2 separate regions of the Homo sapiens genome follow, and region 1 is linked to region 2. Evidence: promoter capture Hi-C in 16 types of primary human blood cells and fetal thymus (Javierre and others, 2016). All regions are on one chromosome and are shown on one strand. Each heading gives the region's core, a stretch centred on a gene start or on the middle of the fragment in contact. The rest is flanking DNA. Distances are from core to core; before and after follow the strand shown.

Region 1 (4,372 bases), core at 709-3,208, 550 kb before region 2:
CTGAATCATTCCTGTAATTTTAAGATAATTTCTATTTGGTCATGAAATGTTTTTATACATTACTGAATTTGAATTTTATTTAAGATTTGTACATCTGTGATCACAAGTGAGGCTGACTCTCTATTTTCTTCATTCTCTCTGTCTTGTTTTGGTTTCAGAATTATATTCGTTCCACCAAATGAGGTAGGAAGCTTTTTTATTCTGTTCATATTATGTCAGCACCTCAAGTGGTTAATAAATGTCAAATGTAAAAACCATCTAAGTCTGCTGTCTTGTTTGCAGTTTGTTGGGAAAGGGTACATGTTTTATACAATTAAAAAAGGAGTATCCTTCAGTTGAAGGCTTAATTTATTTCTTTTACTTACTTTCTTTCTAAATCTAAATATTACGTTAGCCACCTCCAAAGTGATTTTTATATCCTTATACTGAAAATGTCTCATGTAAATAGCACATTTTTAGGTTATGTTTTTAATTTAGTATGACTTTTTTCTTTGAAATAGGGTACTTGGTCCAATTACATTTAATGTAATAAGTGATATAGCTGGATTTACAACTACTACCTATTTTCTATCTCCCATCTGTTTGAATTTCCTTTTTCTTCTTTTGAATCAGCCAAATATTTTATTACATCTTTTTTTCTGCTATCAACTTGATAGGTGTATTTTTACCATTATCGTAACAATTACCTTGGACATTAGAACACCCAACTTGGACCTGGTAGTCTAATCAAACTGTTCAACATTACCATTTCTTCAATAATAGTAGTACCTTACAACACTTTGACTCCATTTGTCCTCCTGCCTTTGACCTTATTATTGTCATACATTTTAATTCTATGAATACTTTAAACTCAACAAGATGGTGGGGTTTTTTGTCTGATTAATAGTCAATTATTTTAATTGATATATTTACTGATTCTGGCTCTCTTCATTCTTTACTGAATTTTGTTGTTTCTCTTTATAATCATTTTATTTCTGGCTGAAGAATTTCATTTAGTTTTATTTTATTTCAAGTGCATTGGCAACAAATTCTCTGTCTGAAAAACATTTTGATTTCATCTTCACTTATGTAAGATATTTTTGCTGTGTAGAGAATGATAGGTTAAAAGTTTTCTTCCTTTCACCACTTTAAACATGTCATTCTATTGTTTTATGGTTCTGATTGTAATAATATGTCAGTATTAAAGATAATGTCAGGCTTTCCTTCTCTGTCAGGCTTTTAAGTTTGTTCTCTATGTTTTTTCAGCATTTTGACTATGATGTGGCAAATTGTGGTTTTCTTTGCATTCATTTTGCTTACAATGAATTAACTGAATATGTGGTCCGATATATTTCATTAGTTTAGGAAAATGTTTATTATCACTTTAAATATTGTCTGTTCTTCCTTATTTTCAATCTGTCATCTAGTTTGGGATGTTATTTACACACATGTTGGACCATTTTTCTGTGTCTAACATATCTCGTACTGTTTGTTTTTTCTGTGCTTCAGTTTCAATATTTTCTATTGTACTGTCTTCAAGTTCACTAATTCTATCATCTTCTGTATCCAATTTGCTGTTAAGCCATCGATTGAGTTCTTAACTTCAGATACCATATTTTTCAATATTAGAATGTTCATTATTTTAGTTATAAGCTCTGGTGAAACTCCCCACCTTTTCATCTATTTTCAAGAATATTTTTCCTATTTTCTTGAACATCTTAAACATAGTTATTTTAAAGTTTTTGTCTACTACCTCCAAGTTCTGGATCACTTCTGAGTTTGCTTCTATATTCTGTGTTTTGTTTTTCTCTTGGTATATGATTACGGTGTACTAGTAATTTTTAATTGATGGATGTAGGAAACTGCATACTTAAGAAAGGTTATATACAGTGTTATTTTCCACTTAAGAAGGTCCATGTGTTCCTCTGCTGGGCAGTTAAGAGTGATACTCTGATCACTTTTACTCATTCAGGGACTGAGCTGAATTTAGACCACCTGAAAATTTTGATAAAACTAATTCATTACACCTTAATGTGGCCCTATTCTAATGGTGAGGCCCTTCAAGGTTTTCAGTTGAAAGCCTGGCAGGTCTTTGTCTCAACACAGAGAGAGTAAGACTATAGAGATTTCTAATATAATTTTCAAAGGTTTCTGACTTACATTTTTGGACTATTGTCCTGCACAGCTTAAGAATTTGGCATGCCAGCCTCACTGAACTGCCAAAAGCTGTACTGATCACTCTGTCCCCGTTAGTAACCCTTTATCAGAGGCCAAGCCCAAATTCTCACCTATAGCGCAGAGGTATGTGACTTTTCTATGCAACTAATCACCTCAATCATTATAGTATGAAAGCAGCCATGATGATATGTAAATCAGTGAATAAGGCTGTTTTCCAATAAAACTTTATTTTAAAAAATAGGCAACAAGAAGATTTGGCCCATGGGCCATAGTCTGCTGACTTCTGCTTTTGCTGCACCCGGAAAAAGCAAGTGTACCCAAGAGAAAAAAGTGGCTAGAAACTGTCAGCATTAGTTCACCACAATCTCCAGAGCTGTCACCTCTTACCTGGTACATTCTTAAGGGGCTCTCATCCTGAAGATGTTTATCTCCTCAGTAATACAAGACTAGTAAATTCATAGCTCTGGTTATCAGATGTTTTTTGCTTAGTAATTTAGTTTCCCTTTAGTTTTAGAATTTGGCAAGTATTTTGAAAGGAAAATTGGTAATATGATTGAGGCAAATATCTTGAAAAGGAAAGTTATTTTGAGTGAATGACAATTATGTCACTCTAGCCTAACACAGTCACCAAAAATGTTGCTGGTGAAATTTCTCTATACTCTAGCAGTGGCCCACTGCCAAGCCCAGATTCTCAACCTTTGGTCTACTCCCAGAATTGGCGAATGATTACAGAGAAAAATTGGCTACAGATTCTCAGCTCATCTCTGAGAAGTTTCCCCAAATCTAGATTTTTAGATTCTCAGTCCTCATTGCTTCTACATCTGATATTTTTAAAAATACGATTTAATCTGCCTTTCCTAATTGTTCTTGGTGAGCTCATAAGCCTACTGCAAATTATTCCATCCTGTTCAGAAGTAGAAATTGTACACTACTACTTTTGATATTTTCATTATCACTTAGTCCCAAGTATTTTTTTAATTTTCATAGGTTTTTAAATATTATTCTAAGAATTATTCAAAGAGTGTTTTCAAATTCCCAAATATATGTTTTAAACAATTCTTTTTTACTCATGATTATAACTATTACACTGTGATCCGAAAAAAAATGCTCCTCAAGATTCCAACACCTTATGTTATTAAGACTTACTCTTTTGGCCTAGTATTGGTTAATATTTGTAAACATTACAGTTGGTCTTAAAGAGAATGCTTATTCCCTAATTGTTCAATTTCTTGGCTCAAGTTTATTGATTATGTTGCTTACATTTTTAATTTTAAAACTTTTGGATGGCTCTTTTATTGGTTTCTGATAATGTAATACTGAAATATTCCATTATAATGATAAACTTATCAACCTGTTTTTTAAATATGTAAATTTTTGTTTTAAATATTTTGTGGTTATATTACTAATTAAGAGTTTAACATGCTTTTCTCTTCCTGATGAGATAAACCTTTACTTAGTTATCTTGCTTATGATTAATAATGTTATATGTTATATACTCTATGTACTATGTACTATGTGTATACACATATATGTATATGTACTATGTATATATTTTACACTATAAGTATTTAAGCTTTCTTTTGGTGAGCAGTAGTTGCCTGTAATCCTTTCATTTTCAACTATTTAATATCATTATATTTTCTGTCTGTAGTTATGCCTCTTTTTATCCTAATGCAGTATTGTTATAAACTATTATTATTCACTTATTTAAAATGTGATTAAAAAATTATCATTATTTCTCTTCACTCCTTTTACTGCCTTCTCATTGATTTTTTAATTTCACTTTTTCTCCTGCAATGTTTCTGATCTTATTTCCTCTATTTCTATTCATTTATTAATCACTCTAAAAATGTAAACTGCATACTTTCCTCACTGTCTAAAGCTATTAAAATTTACAACCCTTTTCCCAAAGGAAAAAAAAAAAAAGCTGAAACTCCAGAATACTTTAACCAATCACTTCCTCTTCTCTTACACAATGTTGTTATTAAATACATTAATACTTTGGTTTATCTTACTCCCCAAATAATTATTGTCATTGTCATTATCATCATAATTATAAAATATATTCAGTTTTTGCTTAAATTTACTCACATTTTACCAATTTATTACAGCGTTCCTATTTACACTCAGACCTCTTTTCTGGTTCATTTCCCTTTTTCAAAAAGTGCATCCCTTTAGGTATTAAGGTATTTTGATACCAAACACTCTCAGCTTT
Region 2 (4,615 bases), core at 834-3,333:
GGTAGGTTTGGCGGGGGGAAATTACAAAAACAACACTTACAAAATGATAGCCGCTTAGCAACTTCAAGTATATATACCTTTGTTTGTACTAACTACTAATGTCTACCACTCTCCAATTGAGATCACTAAGTTGCATGGTCAAACTATCATTTTAATCACAGTGATAAACTTTTAAAACGTCTGAAAAACTCCTATATAGTTAGGTTACAGTTTAGAATATATAATATATAAAGTTAAATACATAACACACATTAAAGATAAAAATATAAAACTCAAGTGATAAAACATTAATTTATTTAAATCTTGTTTTACATGTACTTTCTTTCTGTGCAAAGCTACCAAGCACAATAAATCAACTTTACTGCAAAAATAAGTTACTTGTGATATTTTCACAAGATTATACTACCAAAAAAATCAGTACAAACAAAAAAAATCTGCGTAAGTATGCATACGTAAGTCTTGACAAACAGGCATATATCACTAAATAAAAATTTAATTTAGTTAAAAAATGTTTACTGATTGCCAATATTGTGTTGGTACCCCATTAAAACAACACTTTCTCCCCTTCATTTAAGAAACAAAAACTAAACCAAAATATGGAAATATCTGGAATGATACACAGCAACCACAAAGGCTGGTTACAGAGATTTAAGACTGAGGAATGGAACTTTGTGGTACCGTGAAACAAGCACTGTGTTACTCTATACTATATACCTCTCTGTATTATGTATAGGAAAAAAAAACACTTTTGTAGTTTTAAAAAACAAACTATGAATAAATTAACTAGTCACCTGATTCGTTTTGTAATTAACTCCCCACTCCTTATTTAGTACTGCAACTACTAAATAAAATCCAAATACTACTTAAGAATACGAAAAAACAAAGGTATACTGTAAATTCACTTCTGAGACATTAGGGAATTGGAGAGAAATATTAAATTGATTTCAAACTCATTTAAGAAAAATAAAGCTCAAACTCTGATGCCAAAATTTATGAGTTTGCTCTTTACTAAAAAGTTGACCTGAGGCCGGGCGCGGTGGCTCACGCCTGTACAGTGCTGAAATCCCAGCACTTTGAGAGGCCAAGGCAGGTGGATCACTTGAGGTCAGGAGTTTGAGACCAGCCTGGCCAACATGGTGAAACCCCGTCTCTACTAAAAACACAAAAATTAGCCGGGCGTGGTGAAGCGCGACTGTAATCCCAGCTACTCGATACTCGAGAGGCTGAGGCAGGAGAATCGCTTGAACCCGGGAGGCGGAGGTTGCAATGAGCCGAGATCGCCCCACTACACTCCAGCCTAGGCGACAAGAGCGAGACTCCGTCTCAAAAAAAAAAAAAAAAAAATCACATGAAACAGTCTGTTACCTTAAATATATAACCTAAAACAACCATCCCTAAACTTCAAAGATGGCAACCTCAGTAACACAGTAGTAATTAAAACCCTACCGATAACTGAGTTAATAGGCACGTACAAAATGATGAAAAGCAGGATTTTATTCTGACCACAGGTGTTGTCAGAGACATAATGGGCCCTCCAAATACTGCCAAAAGTTACTGAAAATACGAAGTCAGGGTGATGAGTAAATGACACCCAGAGAAAATAGATGGGAGGAGTTCTGTTTCAGGAGACTGGAGTCAGGTACTGCAGCAGAAAACGCGACACAATAGTTAACCGGTCTGGAATACTTTAGAAAATGGCAAGAAGGGAAAAACTGACAAGAACATCTTAAAGTAAGAGGAACGGTATCCAATGGAATCATCAGGTCTGCGCGAGCACGGCTCCCGGACTTCCAGTGAGTGGGACAGGGTGGAACTATCACTGCGTGGGGAGAAGGACCTGGCTGAGGGGTGCATATGCTTTTGCAGGTGGTGGAGCGCCCGCAGGGGGATGGGGAGGGCAGTGTTGCCTCAATGGGGTTACTGTATTCCCTTCAAGACTATGGGAAGCTGATGCAGCACGTATCCCGGCACCAAGAGGCACTCGCCCCGGGCCCCTCCCTAACGACTTGCCTTGTAGAAAGAGTTGCAGGTCCCAGGCCCCCGGAACCCAAGGCTCCGCCATCCAGGACAACTGCTCTGCCAACGAGGTCCCGCGAGAATCGAGAGATCTCGCGATACAAACCCACTCGCATCTCGCGAGCTTCCACTAGACCCAACATGGCGGTACAGAAAAAAATCAGTATTTCGGAACTTAAAAAGCACTTCACTAACGGAGTAGTGAACATTTAAAACACTGAGACAGTAGGAAGTCTTTCCGCTTTATACGTCTCCTCCTTTCCCCTTGTACAGAAAAGCAGAAATCTTAAAAACCTCCGATTACCACGATTATACTACATAAACAGAGCGCAGTGCGCTGCCCCAGGCAGCCTCCCTGTCACGTGGAAACATTTTCGGCGTGCCCGTCACGTGGGCCGCTACTGAGCGAGCGCGCTCCCGACGCCCTCCCAAAAGCCCTCCCCGCCCCCCCTTTCGCCCGCGCACACGTGCGCGCGCACCCCCGCCCCACGTGGGGGCTTCGCCGTCGCAGCCGTCGCAGCCGTCGCAGTCGTCGCCTCCAGCCCACCCCCTCCCGGTACTTGGCTCCAAATCCGGGTCCCAAGCCGATCGTTTCCCACCCCCATTCCCTCCCCCTTCATTCTCCCTCCCCCGTGTCTGGCCCTCACCACGTGTCCCGAGCTCTTGCTCACCTTTCACGCGGGGTCGGACGCAACGGGCCACTTGGGGAGGCGCCGCCGCCGTGGCCGCTCTCCGCCCCCGCCACGGCACTTGCTCGGGTGGCCACCGCTGCAGGAAGCTCGATAGCGGCGCCGCGGCGCTTCCAGGTGGGTCCCCGCCTCCCGCTCCTGCCACTTCCCGCAGCACCAGCGGCTCCTTCCGGTCCCCTCCTTTCTCCTCGTTGGGACTGGCGGGCGGCGGCGGCGGCGGCGACCGCTGCTGCTGCTGTTGCTGCTGCTGCAGGCGCGCTCACTACACCGCCTGCTGGTAACCGCGGCCCGTGCAGCGCCCGCGGGTCGGGCGCCGCCGAGGCCCTCCCCGGCCAGTCCCTGCCCCTGGGCGAAGTTTGGTCTTCCGAGGGCGGGTTGCAGTCCATCCCTTGCAACCGTCCAACCTGGCCCTAGCAGAGGAAAGGCGTCCTCGTAGCTCCGCCATTGGAAATCGGCTTCATCCTGCCCTTTGTGGCCTCCTGAGAGATTTGTAAACCCCACCTCCCTTAGCACTGTGGTCTCAAGCCAGGAGAACATCCATACATGTATTTATGATCGTGCTTCTGCCTCGCCTCGTTCACCTCTGGCTTGTACCACAGCACGCAGGCTCGAACCACTTCGGGCCTTTGTGCTTGCCGATTTCTCTGGCAGAACATTTCCTCCAGATTTTTTTTAACTCCTCGATGTTCGATGCATATTTCAGGTCCCTTCTCAGAGGGCTGCCCAGACCACTGTATCCAAAAAAAGTACACCTGCACCATTGCTTTAACTCTTCACCTGCTTTTATTTCTTCATAACAGTTACAACTTCCAGACCTTATTTGTCAGTATCCTCACCACCAGAAATGTAAAATTTTTAAAAGCAGGGACTTAGTAAACTGTTTTGCTCATTGCTGTATCCCCAGAATTGTGTCTGGCACAAAGCAGTGCTCAGTAATATCAAAACAGATCTACCAACTATATTGAGCATGTAGGAAAATAAAGCCCAACACACATTAATGAAGATAAATAACTTCATCATTTATGAGCTGTGGAAAAACAGCTAAACCTCCTTCCGTGGCTATAAAGATTATGTTCCAAAAATATAAAATCCAGTGGTAGAAGCCGTTAACTGGGGCTCTTCTTTGACAATTGTCCAGTGCTGTTTCATTACTTTTGTTTTCCTTTGCAACACTATTTTTTTTTTCGGGCAAGTGGATACGTGTTGTGCCTTCTTTTATGTTGCTAATAAAAGTTATTAAATGTTTTAAATGGTGTTTTGTATTTTAGCTTTGAGTTCAACTCAAAGTAACATCTACTTCAAGAAAAAGGGTTACATGTTTTTAACACATCAAGTATTTATTGAACATACTAGTGTTTCTGGGTGGCAGTATGTCAAAAAAAAACGGGGGTGGGGGAGGCCGGGCGCGGTGTCTCAAGCCTGTAATCCCACCACTTTGGGAGGCCTTGACAGGCAGATCACCTGAGGTGTCAGGAGTTAAAGACCAGTCTGGCCAACATGGCGAAACTTCGTCTCTACTAAAAATAGAAAAATTAGCCAGGTGTGGTGGCACACGCCTGTTATCCCATGTAATCCCAGCTACTTGGGAGGCTGAGGCAGGAGAATTGCTTGAACCCGGGAGGTGGAGGTTGCAGTGAGCCGAGATCGTGCCACTGCACTCCAGCCTGGGCGACAGAGCAAGACTGTCTCAAAAATAAAAAAGGAAAGATAAAACATACTAGTGCCCTATGCTAAGACTAGAGATACAAAAATAAACACGTTTCCCTACCTTGCTCTTTCTACTTATAGAGCCAAATCCTATTATAATAACCATACTTAGCATGCTTTTGATTCCTATGTGCCAGGCCAAATGCTGTGTACTTTTCTATGTTACCCTATTTTAGGCTTCTGACAATCCTATGAGATATATA

What was found. Contacts are between HindIII fragments. The CHiCAGO score rates a contact against its expected background, and 5 or more counts as called.
Region 1: a fragment that was not itself captured here is called in contact with the fragment with the promoter of ZZZ3 in region 2 in 3 of 17 cell types (monocytes, M1 macrophages and non-activated CD4 T cells); the score reaches 6.4 in monocytes.

Annotation. Positions count from the first base shown.
Region 1 is chr1:77,131,722-77,136,093 of GRCh38, forward strand. All of the region lies in intron 9 of PIGK (phosphatidylinositol glycan anchor biosynthesis class K), which reads right to left. Among named protein-coding and RNA genes, the nearest start is that of MIR7156, 74 kb to the left of the region's middle. The HindIII fragment of the contact is 3,539 bases long and covers 190-3,728 here.
Region 2 is chr1:77,680,575-77,685,189 of GRCh38, forward strand. ZZZ3 (zinc finger ZZ-type containing 3) reads right to left here and starts at 2,084. Exons shown (of 15, transcript NM_015534.6): 1 at 2,011-2,084. RefSeq lists enhancers at 2,140-2,219, 3,037-3,810, 3,240-3,339 and silencers at 2,600-3,019, 3,030-3,089. The HindIII fragment of the contact is 10,120 bases long and covers 1-4,615 here.